Regions from separate parts of the Homo sapiens genome. Here regions 1, 3 and 4 are each linked to region 2. The links are contacts of gene promoters, found by promoter capture Hi-C in blood cells and fetal thymus (Javierre and others, 2016). All regions are on one chromosome and are shown on one strand. Each heading gives the region's core, a stretch centred on a gene start or on the middle of the fragment in contact. The rest is flanking DNA. Distances are from core to core; before and after follow the strand shown. Region 1 overlaps MAST2 (microtubule associated serine/threonine kinase 2). Region 2 holds the start of P3R3URF (PIK3R3 upstream open reading frame). Region 3 overlaps MAST2 (microtubule associated serine/threonine kinase 2). Region 4 overlaps MAST2 (microtubule associated serine/threonine kinase 2).

Region 1 (3,502 bases), core at 116-2,615, 180 kb before region 2:
TCTTAGATTTGTGATGTTACAAGAAAAACTTGGGACTGCAACGTCCCATCTAAACTGGGAAGGAGCCATGAGACCAAAGAATGACTCAGACAAATTTAACTTGATGAGTAGACGAGTTTATTCAACTTACATACAAGGCACTCCTGGACGGCAGCAGGACAGCTCTAGAGATCCACGCTGCCTCCTGTCTCTAAACCGCATTTTTTGTTTGTTTGTTTTTAGACATGGGGTGTTTTGCCATGTTGCTTAGGCTGGTCTCAGACTCCTGGACTCAAGTGATCGCCCTCCTCAGCCTCCCAAACTGGCATGACAGGCGTGAGCCACTGTACCCGGCTCCCTCTAAACTGCTTTTAAGCTAATTTTCTGGATCTTTGCCTACTGTGTTTGAACAATGATACTGTTTTTCTTGAGAGATTCTCAGATACTCTCTGGGATGTTTGGTTGGTTCTCAGGGATACCTGCTCCTCAGCTGGGTACCATTGCCATGGGCCTAGCCTTCAGGTTTCAGGCAGTGAACATATGTACCTTTAAGTAATCTGGTAAAGGACCCATCACACAACATGTGGGTATATGGTTTTTATCAAATTTGCAAAATGGTCCGCCATTATTTCTTCCTATCTTTTTTCTGTATCCCCTGCTCTCCCCTCCCCCTGCTTGAAGTTGTCCTACAGCTCAGTGGTGCTGTTTATTTAGTTTTTTTGCTGCTTTTTTTTCCCCTCTCGGTGTTAGCTATTTCTGACATACGTGTGTGTTATGTAACCCTAGCTGTACTATGCGCACCTGGAAGATTCTTTGTACCTCTGTAACCAGACCGATCCTTGGAAGGCTGGTCATTGTAGGATGCTCATGTCCAGGCATCTCCTTGAGGCTTTAGCTGGGTAGTTTTGGGAACCAACAAAGGGCATCTGACTTTGCATGTCAAGAATCAAACTGTGGGTATTTGTTAATCTTTGACATGAGATGACACTATCAAAAAAGAACAGAATTTTTTTTAAAAAAATAAGCTTTGATACTTCTGAGGAGGCCTGATCCTTATTAAGTCCTGGCTAAGGAAACAGCTACTCAGGATCACTTCCCTTATATCCTGGTGCCCACTAGCCAGAAGATGGGGAGAGGTCATAACAGATATCCCTGACACAGAGCATGGAAAACCCAGAGTTCATGCAATGTTGAGAGCAGATCCACTGGATGAAGTTGTATATTTTATGCACCTGGGGGTGAGAAGAACTGAAAATGCCTCTTATTATTTCAACCAAAAACAATGCCATTATATAATTGATACAGAGGTGCTGCTGCATAGGGTAGTAGGAGCACTGATTGAGAGGCTGGTTTCTACTAGATCAGTATAAAAAGACGTTAAGTGCTATATAAGCCCTATTGGATAGAGATAGTGGGAAACAAAGGGGTAGGTTTTTGGCAACTTGGAACATCCATACACTGTGCAGGAAACATACTATCCAAGAGAAAGCCAGCGCATGTTGAAGTACCAGGCCCCTGGGAGGTAAGCACAGAAGTGAGGAGGTGGACAGGGGTTAGAGGGGAGCCAGCACAGCATGGAGTATGGTGCTTACTTCAACATGGCCTTTTGAGTAGAGTCATATTAACAACTGCCAACAAGGGGCTCCTACGTACCAGTCCCCAGCTGGAAGATAGCCCAGAGAAGTATGGCAGGCTTAGGTTTAAGAACCATTGGGATTAATGCAAAGGTAAACTTACAGTTTTGTTCAAAGCTTCTGAGCTTTAAGTTAGCAAGTTACAGGGAACACGTGAATACTAATTAAGAAATGGCGGTATGCTTTGTAGACTTGGGGGCCTTGATTACGAACTATCTTAAGGTTTACTACTATCCTGAGTCCCTACCTGAGAACTTCTCTTTCCCCTTAAAACACACATGTTCCTGGTTTAGCCCTTGGATACAGTGCGCAGAGATATATATGCAAGAAACTTTTGGATTAGGGGTCCTGTTGCCCTTTGAGAAAGTGTGAACATTTGGCTATACCCTCTGACTGAATGAGCTCTTTAAGCCTTCTGAATGTTGGTTCACTTGACAAAGACAGATTGAAGTCTCAGGTGTGTTCCTAGGAGGGCAGGAAATAGTCAAGTTGCTGCTAGATCTAGAATGGTTATCTGAGAGACATGGGTTGTTACAGCAAACTTGGGAACAAGGGAGAAAACCTCTGGGCTATGAAACTTTTACAGAAAGAGACTCATTAAACTGATAGTGGCCCTGAGAAAATAACCATATAATTGCCAGTGCTAGGGGAATATTTCTTGCCCGAAAGTCATGTCCACCCTCCTCACAAGCAAACCTCACAGAGTTTTGTTTCTTTTCCCATCCACAGGTAACAGTCCTTTGGACAGCCCCCGGAATTTCTCTCCAAATGCACCTGCTCACTTTTCTTTTGTTCCTGCCCGTAGGTAAGTTGATAGGAAACCTCCTCTGGGACCAGCACATGTGGCACTTGCATGAGGGTTAATTGAATGTCAGATTCCTCCTTTAAGTGTCACTACTCTTTCAAGTGTATTACCTGAAGCTCCCATCCATCAAAACTCTGTCTTTGCTTTCCTCTCCTAGGTTGTAATGATCGTGTTCTGGTTTTGCTTTATAGGTGCCCCATGTATTTGTGTTTGAATGTTTAAACAGGAGAGTAGATATTAAGTAAAAGTAGATTTATTTGTATAATTCACTTTTTTTTTTAAGTCCCTGATGTCCTACGGGTATGTTCCAAAGCATTATACTCTCAATTTAGAACTGTCCTACAGTGATGAATGAGAAAATAAGCTCTCCTCCAGGAGGACCCAAAGTTATACTCTTTGTCCTCTCTAACTCAGCTAGTTTAAAGCAGCTGAAAGGGCTCTTTGTGCCTCTCTCCTTGACTTTGAGCTGGAGTTCGTTTGGGGGATAAAGACACTACAGGGACTTCACTTTTCCTTCTATGAATTTAGAAAGATTTGGTGCATACAGAGCCATGCTTACAGTCCTCCTCCCATGTTTCTTCCCTCTTGAGAGTGATAACAAACCTGTCTCTGGCCCATGGCAGCAACGCTGACAGCTCTGCCTGTGGCTGGAATATCATCAGGCCTTTAGAGAAAGCTGAATGAGATTAATCCATCCAAATCACATACCTAGGCTCTATACACACATGATTTCTTGTCAGAACTTTTCTAAGATTCTTTGCCAGAGTTTATATTTATTTTATTTTATTTTTTAATTTTTAAAATTGTTCTTGGTTAGAGTTAGTCCCTGGTATAAGACCTCCAGGAAAATTATGGTTCCAGATTTGTAACCTTTAATGGATGGAGAATGTAATATAGCTGGAGACCAGGACAGTTTTAATACTTAGACTACTTTTTTTTTTTTTTTGAGACGGAGTCTCACTCTGTCACCCAGGCTGGAGTGCTGTGGCATGATCTCGGCTCACTGCAAACTCCGCCTCCCGGGTTCACGCCATTCTCCTGCCTCAGCCTCCCGAGTAGCTGGGACTACAGGCGCCCGCCATCA
Region 2 (3,851 bases), core at 32-2,531:
CTCTGATCTGTGCCTCCCAATACCTTCCAAGATGTTTACAGAGACCCTTCTCCCTGTGCAGTTAGGAGTGTAAGGCAAGAGAGCCCCTACTTCATGGGGCAGATCAAGAGCTGAGACCAAAGATGGTCTATGTTGCTGACCTTGTCCTGTCCTCCTGCTGTCTTAAACTATGATCCCTGCTGCGGTCACTGAAGCCTTTCCCTGTAAGTATTCAGCCATAACCCTCCCCTCACGCCCTGCATAGTCAGCTGGTTAACACCTCTGTGTGGAATAAGGCAGTTTGAGCAGAATGACTGTATTTGTTGTTCACCACCCACACGGCCCCTAGGAGATGCAGGTCCAGGGCAAACCAAGCTTCTGGGCTAGCTTCTGGGCACTTCTAGAGGATCAGAAAAATCCCAGGTTGCCTGAGATGTCTGAGAACTGAGGAGAGGAAGGAGAGGGAAGAGTTTGAGGAAGGAAGCAGTTCTGGAAGTTCCCTGCCTCTTGGATTCAGCCCCTCCCCAAACCCTCTGCTTCCAGCCAATCCATCCTCCATTAAGGCTGTCAGCACTTTGGGGTGCCTGCCATCAGGAGTCCCCCATATATGTAGGGGTGCTATTTCACAGAGATCATCCTTTGGCGTGCCTAAACAGAACCAGGTAGGGAAATCTTCACTGGCTCTGGTTTTTTTTTTTTTTTCTTGAGACAGAGTCTAGCTCTGTCACCCAGGCTGGAGTGCAGTGGCGCGATCTTGGCTCACTGCAACCTCTGCCTCCCGGGTTCAAGCAATTCTCCTGCCTCAGCCTCCCAAGTAGCTGGGACTAAAGGCGTGTGCCACCACGCCCGGCTAATTTTTTTTTGTATTTTTAGTAGAGATGGGATTTCACCGTGTTAGCCAGGATGGTCTCGATCTCCTGACCTTGTGATCTGCCCGCCTTGGCCTCCCAAAGTGCCGGGATTACAGGCATGAGCCACCGCACCCAGCCTAGTGGCTCTGTTTTTTAAAACCCCACCCTGGCTCACAGGCCCCCTGGCTAACCTTGAGGTGGGAAGATCCACACTATGGTGGTGTCAGTGTGGGTGTTGTTGATACCCATGGCCCTGGTGGCAGGATTGATGGCTGCACTGCTGGCAGTTCGACCTCGGAGACCCTGTTGATATCTTCTGCGGCTACACTTGAACATCCTGGGAAATCGGGGCCTGGGCCAGCCCATACCTGGCCTGCGGTAGGGGGAACGCATGCCCTGGGGCCGAGGGCCACGGACAAGCCGAGATGGCCCCATGGGCACAGGGAGCTTCTGCAGTGTGCCTGGGGGGTGCTGTTGGCCAGGGTAGCTGAGGCCTCTATGACATACAAAGTCTGCATAAGGGCAGGGCCCTTTATTACAAGTCGTGGGCCCTGGCCCCTCCTCATGGGTCAGGCTCCTTCACAATCTTCTTTATTGGGTCTGGCCTAAAAGCCAGCCCAAGAGCCAGACAGCCTCAGTTTGGCCCCTTGGGAAAAGAGGCCCTAGAGGCGGAACTCACTTCCTCACTTTCTCACTTATCCATATAGTAACAATATTAACAATGTTTTTTGAGCACTTACTACGTGCCAGACACTGTGCTGAGCACTTTACCAACGTTATCTCATTTAATCTCAGCTACTTTACAAGGATATGCCATCATTATACCTATTTATATACAGTCAATTCTCATTATTCCCAGTAATGTTCTATAAAGTCGCCACAAACACTAAATACTGAACAAAGGGTAAATGCAAGGTTAGGTTCCTGAAACCCTCTGGTCACAATATTTTTGTCAACTGATCTATACATATAACCTGATTTTATGTGTGGAGACACCTTATTTAATATATATTGTTGGCCAGGCATGGTGGCTCAAGCCTGTAATCCCAGCACTTTGGGAGGCCGAGGTGGGCAGATCACCTGAGGTCAGGAGTTCAAGACTAGCCTGGTTAACATGGCAAAACCCCATCTCTACTAAAAATACAAAAATTAGCTGGGTGTGGTGGTGGGTGCCTGTAGTCCCAGCTACTCAGGAGGCTGAGACAGGAGAATAGCTTGAACCCAGGAGGTGGAGATTGCAGTGAGCCCAGATTGCACCATTGCACTCCAGCCTGGGCAACAAGAGTGAAACTCTGTCTCAAAAAAAAAAAAAATATATCTATCTATCTATCTATCTATCTATCTAACTATCTATCTATATTTGAGTCATTGACATTGAACTCACAGCCAACAGCATTATAACTTGTGCCTGAATGAAACTTATCTAAAGCACATATTTCCCCTATAAGGCACATCACAGCCTTCTTGCACTTAGAAAGACTAGAGAGCACTTCAGCACTACAACTGGGGACCATTTTAGACAGTAAAATCACCAGCAAAAAACACCAAAAAATGTGAGAATATGCGTCACTAAATAGACCACCAAAAAGCACATTTGTTTACTCTATGAAAACTGAAATAAGAAGACAGAGAGTCCTCTTGCTCAACAGACCTCAGCTGGAAATACGTGTGTTGGACGGCTGAAATTTTTTGCCTTTCTGCTCATGTCCATGAATGACTGCAAAAGTACCACAAGTACTGGTTTGGGAATTACAAATAAATTTCAGTAAGCAGGCAAATTCACAGGTATGGAATCTGTGAATAAGGAGGATCCACTGTATAAGGAAACTGGGGCTCAGTGAGGTGAAGTCACACAATTAGAGGCAGGCAGGAAGCAAATCCATGATGATCAAGATCCAAAACCCAGAGCACTTAACTCTCATTATTCTGCACTCATTCACTCAGGAAATGTTCACTGACAACTTCTTATGTGCCAAGCACCAGGGCCATAGATGAATGTAATCTGGTCCCAATTCTTCCTGAGAATGAAACAGAAAGGTTCCAGGTGCGGTGGCTCACGCCTGTAATCCCAGCACTTTGGGAGCCCGAGGTGGGTGGATGACTTGAGGTCAGGAGCTCGAGAGCAGCCTGGTCAACATGGTGAAACCCTGTCTCTACTAAAAATACAAAAATTAGCTGGGTGTGGTGGTGTGCACCTATAATACCAGCTACTCAGGAGGCTGAGGCAGGAGAATCGCTTGAAACTGGGAGGCGGAGGTTGCAGTGAGCCAAGATTGCGCCACTGCATTCCAGCCTGGGCAACAGAGTGAGATTCTGTCAAAAAAAAAAAAAATAGACCTTCTCCTTCTCCTTCCACTCCTCAGTCCCTTCTTCCTTTCCCCCTTACTCTGCTCCTCAAATGCCCCCTTCCCAACTTCATCCTCCTTTCTGTTTGTGGAGGACTCTGTGGCACCCTTAGTACCACCCTCACAAACCTCATCTTTCCCCCATCCCCTCCTCCAGCCTCTACTCTTGCCATCCTCAGTCTTAAAATATGACCTTGCTTCCACCAACTTCTAGCAACTGTAACTATAAACCGACCTGCCCCTGCTCCTCCTCTTCCTCAGGTCAGACCAAGGCCTCTTCCCTTGCTCTTTATGGAAGCCAGCCTTGTCTGCCTCTTTAGAGATTCCATCAGTGTAGACAGTCTGCTTGGTGGTTAAGATGTAGACTCTGGTGCCAGACTAACTGGGATTGAATCCTGGCTCTGCCACTTACAGGCTTTGTGATCATGGCAAGTACCTGACCCTTTGGTGCTTCTATTTCCCCATATTTAAAAATGGAGATCAGAAAGTCTATCTCATGGGATGGTTGTGAAGAGGAAAAAAAGCCTTAATATATGCAAGACATTTAAAATAAGATCAGTATTATTAGTGTAGTCTGTAATACTATTAGCCCCTCTCTCTTCTGTCTCTTCAGCTGCCTCCTTTCACTATAAAAACAAAACAAACTTAGAAATCCACTTCCTCAGCTAGGCACAGT
Region 3 (3,726 bases), core at 682-3,181, 250 kb before region 2:
GAGAGGTGAGAATGCATCTAGAAGGCAGCAGCTTTTCTTTCATGTCCCTAGATGCCACAAGAGGAGGAGCCATTGCTGATCCTGATGGCCTCATTTTGGTAGATAGGATGGGCTTAGGGCTAGAGAGTCCTGCTGTTAAGAAACTAGCATACTGGAGTAGTCAGAGAAACGATTAATTTACAATAATAGATCCTTGACACAGAAGAATTAATTTTCATGGCTTTGTTTGTTAATATATACATATGTGTGTGTAAATAGATGGATTTTTTTTTTTGGAGGGCTATCTTCAGGATAAATTACTAGAACTGGGATAGCTGAGTCAAAAATTAAATGTATATGTAGTTTTATTAGATATTGTCCAGTTTCCCTTCACAGTCTATGGTTATACTATTTTACATTTCCATCAGCAGTTTAAGATAATGTCTATTTGCACACAGCCTTGCCAACAATATGATTGTCAAGCTTTTGAATTTTTGCTAATCTGAGAGCTAAAAAATGGTATCTCAATGTAGCCAAGTAAAAAGTCATATTAAAATATTCCTAAAGGATGAAGTTTGTTTTGAGGGGGGATGGAATTTCTCTGTCGCCCAGGCTGGAGTGCGCGATCTCAGCTCACTGCATCCTCCGCCTCCAGGTTTAAGCAATTCTCTGCCTCAGTCTCCCCAGTAGCTGAGATTACAGGCACCCACCACCACGCCTGGCTAATTTTTTTTGTATTTTTAGTAGAGACGGGGTTTCACCATCTTGGCCAGGCTGATCTTGAACTCCTGACCTCATGATCTACCCGCCTTGGCCTCCCAAAGTGCTGGGATTACAGATGTGAGCCACCGCGCCTGGCCTGTTTTTTGTTTTTTTTGTTTTGTTTTGTTTTGTTTTGTTTTGTTTTGTTTATCTTATGTGAAGGGAATCAGTTTCCTGTCCTGGGAAATTGAGATAGATGCATTCATTCATTCATTCATTCATACATTCAACTGCATACTAGGCCCTCTGAGCAGGAGAAGATGCCCACATAGGCAATAGAACACTTCGCAGCACGGGGTAGAGTAAAAGGGATGCTTTTTATTTCATAAGCTTTCAGCCTTATTCACCCCTATTCAGTCATTCCCAGAACTTTTCAAGTGATTTCTCTGGATGTTAGCAGAAATATTTTTTTAATGTCAAAATTCCAAGAATAGTTCAAAGAGCTTTTCACCCCCCAAACCAGGGGTCAGCAAAATAAACCCCATGAACCAAATGTGACCTGTGGGCTGTGTTTATACAAGCCACAAGCTAATAATGAAGTTTACATTTTTTAAGGGATATTTACAAAAAACAAGGAATATGTGACAGAGACCACATGTGACCTGCAAAGCCTAAAATACTTATTATCTGGCCTTTACAGAAAAAGTTTGACAGCCCTTGTCCTAACCCATACTGAATTAGCTCCTGATATGTTATCTCATCAGCCCTGAACACTTTAGTGTATACTTCCTACAGAGACATTTTCATAACAGTACAGCCATTAAAATCAGAAAATTAACATTAATAAATATTACCATCTAATCTACAAGTTTAATTCATATTTCACCAAATGTCCCAGTAATATCCTTTGTAACAGAAGGCTCCGATCCAGGATCATGTGTTAGAATTTTACTGTTATTCGTCTTCTATCTCCTTTAATCTGATGCAGTTTTGTAGTTATTTCCTCAACTTTTATAACCTCAATACTTTTGAAGATTACAGACCAGTTTATTTGATAGGATGTCCTTTAATTTGAATTTGTCTGTTATTTCCTCAGGATTAGAATCAGGTTATGAACCTTTGGCAGAAATATCACAAAAAGGTGGTATTGTGTTCTGTTTTTTTTTTTTTTTTTTTTTTGAGATAGAGTCTTGCTCTGTTGCCCAGGCTGGAATGCAGTGGCACAGTCACTACCTCCTGGGCTCAAGTGATCTTCCCACCCCAGCCTCTTTTGTTGTTTTTGTTTTTTTGAGAGTGTCTCGCTCTGTCACCCAGGCTGGAGTGCAGTGGCATGATCTGGGCTCACTGCAACCTCCACCTCCCGGGTTCAAGCGATTCTCCTGTCTCAGCATCCTGAGTAGCTGGGACTACAGGCGCCCGCCACCACACCTGGCTAATTTTTGTGTTTTTTTTTAGTAGAGACAGGACTTCACCATATTGGTGAAACTAGTCTCGAACTCCTGACCTCAGGTGATCCGCCCACCTCAGCCTCCCAAAGTGCTGGGATTACAGGTGTGAGCCACCATGCCCAGTCCCACCCCAGCCTCTTGAGGAGAGTAGCTGGAAATACAGGCATACACTACCATGCCTGGCTAAGTTTTAAAAAATTTTTTTAGAGACAGGGTCTTGCTGTGTTGCCTAGGCTGGTCTTGAACTCCTGGGTTCAGGTAATCCTCCTGCCTCGGCCTCCCAAAGGGCTGGGATTACAGGCGTGAGCTACTGCACCCAGCAATGTTGTGTTCTTCTCATTGTGTCCTGTTAGGTGATACAGGCTTTCGTTTTGTCCCATTACTATGAAGTTAACCTTGATCACTTTATTAACGTGGTGTTTTGCTGCTGTAAAGTTTTGCTGCTGTGAAGTTACTCTTTTTTTCCCTTTGTAATTAATAAGTATTTTATGGGAATGTTCTTAAAATTATGTAAGTACCCCATTCCTCATCAAATTTTAACCCTCTGTTTTTAGGATCCATTGATGTTCCTGGTTGCATTATTATACTATGCTGGTCACCAAATGGTATTTTTACAATTTCATAATTCTTTCTATACCCATCAGTTGGCATTTCACCATAGCAAAAGCTTTCACCTCTCCCTATTCATTTTTCACTTACTTTATTATACTGTATAAATTCAGTGGACTTTTGACTGGGCGCTGTGGCTCACACCTGTAATCCCAGCACTTTGAGGTGGGTGGATCACTTGAGGTCAGGAGTTCAAGACCAGCCTGGCCAACGTGGTGAAACCCTGTCTGTACTAAAAATGCAAAACTAGCCAGGCGTGGTGGCTCACGCCTGTAATCCCAGCTACATGGGAGGCTGAGGCACGAGAATCGCTTGAACCCAGGAGGCGGAGGTTGTAGTGAGCCAAGATCGCACCACTGCACTCTGGCCTGGGAGACAGAGTGAGACTCTGTCTTTCAACTGCCCCCTCCCCACTCCAAAAAAAATTTAGTGGATTTGTCTTATTTGATGGGTTATATAATCTGTTAATACCATTTTAGTTTTGATGCTCAAAATTGTATCATATCTGGTCAAGGGAAGTTTCTTCAGGCTGACTTTTGTGTCTTTTTGATGTCTCTGTCATTCTTTGAGAACTACGTAACTTTCTGCCCTGAGAAGATATTCCTGGCTGGCTTATTTTGTACCCTCACTAGCCCTTGAGCTTTTTCTCTAGGCAGCATAGTTCTTTTTAGTGGAGAATGCTTTTTAAAAGCCAAAATATGAATCAGGCATGGTATAATCCCAGCACTTTAGGGGGCTGAGGAGTTCAAGACCAGCCTGAGCAACTTAGTGAGACCCCATTTCTTTAAAAAAAAAAAAAAAAAAAAAAAAAGGCCAAGTGTGGTGGCACATGCCTGTAGTCCCAGCTACTCAGGAGGATCATTTAAGCCCAGGAGTTCAAGGTTGCAGTGAGTTATGATCACATCACTGTACTCCAGCCTGGGCAACAGAGCAAGACCCTGTCTCTTTAAAAAAAAAAAGCGGGGGGGTTGGGGGGGGCAAATGTTGA
Region 4 (3,506 bases), core at 221-2,720, 220 kb before region 2:
AACAGATTAGGGTAGAAGACAAGAGTAAACCAGAGAGACTAGTTAGGAGGGTATTGAAATCCAGGTAAGCAATAAATAATATATCAATAATAATATAATGGATACGTAATAATATCTCCCTTTATTGGGGAGGGAATATGTATTTTTTTCCCACTCTCACTTCCCCATCTTAACCAGGACATCTTGGTTGTTACTCTGAAATATTATAGCATCTGGAAGTGCTTGACTGTAACCAGCTCCACATTCTTCTTTATATTGTTTACACTTACTGAAACAGAAGTGATCTTTTCCTCATTCTAAATTCTAAAAGGTGCCTGCCAAGTACTATCCAGTCACGGAGTGCTCAAGTTCCTAGGAGCAGCTAGACCTCTGAGATTTGGAGACTGGAGAGACCTAAGGGATCTGCAACCAGACATCTTATTCCATACCCTTTGTTGCTTCACAGTGGGAAGCAGGCTTCCTAAGTAAATTTACAGCAGCTCTTGCAGGGGTCAGATTTTCCGAGTGCCTGCTAGTTGCTGGAGGGAGGGGTTTTTGAAGGCTAGAAACGATCTACTACTCTCCAAATGTGGTTACAATTCAACATTGTCACAGAGAATGCACGATATGCCTTAGCCCTTGTTCTTGCTGTTGACTGAGATGACCATGGCGAGGTATGTAAGAAATTGAAATGCCAAGTCTCACTCCAAGTAGCCAAGTGACTGGGATGATTTAACACCAGTCTTTGCATGAGGTAGCTCCGGGGGCTTCCAGGCTACCACCCGTCCGCTGAGAGTTAGTGTACCCAACTCTGCAGATATCCAGTACTTCATCTTACTGGAATGAAAGAATTAAGACTTGCCCTTTATCTTCTTAGGATCCTGGGGAAATGGCCAGAGCCTGTTGAAATGGAAAAATTAGCCAGTTCCTTGTTGTGGATCTCAGCTGAGTCATGGTATCTGTAGCAGAGTGTCTGACCTTTTTTTCCCCTGGCAGCTGTTAAAGATTTGCCAAGTGAGATTATGTGTACCTTTATAAAAAGGCATGTGGCCTGGAAATACGATCTTTAGTGTTTTGGCTTTTATTTTAAATTTTAAATAAGGTTAAGGCAAATGAAGCTGGAATTAATTATCCGTCCCTGAAGTTTCAAGACATTTTCACTTTCAGACACAAGGATTTAGATATAACAGTTTGATTTACCTTTCATAGGCCAGGTATACATGTATCTTCTTTATTTTAATCCTTGTAACAAATCATACTCATCCATTCATTTAACAAATACTTATTGAGAGCCTACTGTGTGCCAGGCAGCGTTCTAGGTATTGAGGAGTGCAGCAGTACACAAAGCATACAAAAGCCCCTGCCCTCATACAGTTTAATTTCTGATGAGAAGAGAGACAACAAAATGAATGTGCAAAATATATACCATCATATATATATTGGGGATTAGTTCCAGGACCCACACGGATACCAAAATCTGCAGATGCCCAAGTCTCTTATATAAAAGAGCATACATAATATTCGCATATAACCTATACACATCTTCCTGTATACTTTAAATCATCTCTAGATTATTTATAATATCTAATACAAAGCAAATCCCTGCAAATAGCTGTTATACTATATTTTTAAAATTTATATTATTTTAAAAGTTTTAAAAAATATTTTCCACCCATAGTTGGTTGAATCCATGGATGTGGAACCCACATGCTGACTGTAGTGTGTTAGATGATGATAAGTGCTAGGAGAAAAATATATCAAGAAAGGGGGATAGAGAGTTTGGGAGGGTTTGCAATTTTAAATAGAATGATCGGGGAAAATTCACCCAGAAGATTGTACTTGAGCAAAGACCTGAAGGAAGAGGGGAGCAAGCCTTGAGGCAACCTGGGAGAAACATAGGCAAAGGAAATCCCAATTGTAAAGGCCCTGAGATGGGTGGCTCGCTTGGCATTTTCTAAGAAAGGCGAGGAGGCCGGTGTGGCTGGAGAGTGAGCAGGAGGGAGAGAGGTCATGGAGAATCCAGACCATATAATGCCTTGTAGGCCATCATCAGAACTGGCTTTTTCTCTCAGTGAGACAAGGAGAATTTTAAATGGAAGAGGGACATGATGTTGCTTACATTTTAAAATTTTTGTATAGTTTTATTGAGGTATGATTGGAATATAATAGATTGTATGACTGTGATAATGAACATGAAGATAATGAACAGATCTATAACTCTCAGAAGTTTCCTCATGACTATCTATAATCCATTCCTTGCTTCTCATTGGGCAACTACTAATCTGCAGTCTGTCACTATAGATTAGTTAGCATTTTCTATAATTTTATATAAATGGAATTGGATCAACTAAACAATTTGTCCTTGTGAGTCCCACCAGTGAAATTTCTTAATTGTGGTGGGTCAAATTCAAATTTTATTTTTTTAGTGGTTCTACTTTTGAGAAAATTTTTATTTCACCTCTCCCAATGGATAGATGTTTATTTCAAGATACATTGCAACCTATTGTCAACACTTCAAACCTGCCAATCATTGACTTCTTGAAGGAGTGTAATTTGTTATCTATGGCTCCTAAATGTTCCTCATATCACCAACCCTTACTGTGGGTGGTACAATGCCAGTATAATAAAGACAGCTATTCATGGAAATTTGTTCACTGCAATTGCCAATCAGCATGAGTCTGTCTTTGAAAGGATTATTTTTTCACAAAATCCAGCATTTCCCTGAATAAGTGGCTTCATCTTCCCTTGTTATGGTCTATGGAAGTCACAGAGAGAGCAACTACTGCTGTTACTGGAATTTCAGTCCATACTATGGTCAGTGTCCACAATTTCTGTCACAAAGTATGCAAGCATTACTTTGAACTACATCCGATACAGCTTAGTGGTTTAGGTCATTACTTGCAAATCAGTGAGTCCTGTTTTAGCCACGAAATCAAGTGTCACTATAGCCATGCTCTGGAGAGAGAAATAATGGGCTTTTGGTATGGTGGATACACCCATCAGCCAGCTATTGGTTATTTGGAAATTTTTGGTGACTGTTCTGCCCAAACCTTGCCACCTATTTTGCAGTGCCTAGTTGAGCACAGTTCATATCATCTCTTGGCATACATACCCAAAACATCTAGTGCTATTGAAATAAATGCAAAGCAAAGTGCAAGACCATGAGAGGAATTCGTCACAATGTGTTGGACTCGTATTTGGTCGAATTTATGTGGGATGATTGACTTGGAAATAATGTTTTCAATTCCCTTTTAGCGCATGTGTCAGAACAGTCTCCTGTTAAGTAACATTATGTTTGACTTTTGTTTTTAGTATATTTTAGTATAAATATCCAGGGACAAATTTTTTGATTGAATACACCTGAGAGGCAAATTGTTCAACTCATCCATGAAAGCATACAACATACTCTTTTTTGTCTGGCATCTTGCTTTCAGCATAATTATTTGTGAGATTCATCCATTGTGTGAATCAATTATTCATTCCTTGTTATTGCTGAGTAGAATTCCATTATATGGATATACTGTGAT

The links. The method cuts DNA at HindIII sites, captures the fragments that hold promoters and counts their contacts. A CHiCAGO score of 5 or more calls a contact.
Region 1: a fragment that was not itself captured here is called in contact with the fragment with the promoter of P3R3URF in region 2 in 1 of 17 cell types (M0 macrophages); the score reaches 5.3 in M0 macrophages.
Region 3: a contact is called between a fragment that was not itself captured here and the fragment with the promoter of P3R3URF in region 2, in 2 of 17 cell types (M2 macrophages and M0 macrophages). The highest score is 5.6, in M2 macrophages.
Region 4: a contact is called between a fragment that was not itself captured here and the fragment with the promoter of P3R3URF in region 2, in 2 of 17 cell types (M1 macrophages and M0 macrophages). The highest score is 5.5, in M1 macrophages.

Annotation. Positions count from the first base shown.
Region 1 is chr1:45,995,382-45,998,883 of GRCh38, forward strand. MAST2 (microtubule associated serine/threonine kinase 2) reads left to right here. Exons shown (of 29, transcript NM_015112.3): 6 at 2,343-2,418. Among named protein-coding and RNA genes, the nearest start is that of PIK3R3, 140 kb to the right of the region's middle. The HindIII fragment of the contact is 726 bases long and covers 1,003-1,728 here.
Region 2 is chr1:46,175,207-46,179,057 of GRCh38, forward strand. P3R3URF (PIK3R3 upstream open reading frame) reads right to left here and starts at 1,282. Exons shown (of 2, transcript NM_001328655.2): 1 at 1,022-1,282; 2 at 280-423. The coding sequence starts at 1,265. The coding sequence ends at 380. It overlaps P3R3URF-PIK3R3 (P3R3URF-PIK3R3 readthrough), which reads right to left and starts at 1,282. Exons shown (of 10, transcript NM_001303427.2): 1 at 1,022-1,282. The coding sequence starts at 1,265. It overlaps TSPAN1 (tetraspanin 1), which reads left to right. Exons shown (of 9, transcript NM_005727.4): 1 at 1-203. The HindIII fragment of the contact is 5,416 bases long and covers 353-3,851 here.
Region 3 is chr1:45,929,540-45,933,265 of GRCh38, forward strand. All of the region lies in intron 4 of MAST2 (microtubule associated serine/threonine kinase 2), which reads left to right. Among named protein-coding and RNA genes, the nearest start is that of MAST2, 130 kb to the left of the region's middle. The HindIII fragment of the contact is 1,725 bases long and covers 1,070-2,794 here.
Region 4 is chr1:45,953,786-45,957,291 of GRCh38, forward strand. The region is part of intron 4 of MAST2 (microtubule associated serine/threonine kinase 2); the gene reads left to right. Among named protein-coding and RNA genes, the nearest start is that of MAST2, 150 kb to the left of the region's middle. The HindIII fragment of the contact is 5,257 bases long and covers 1-3,506 here.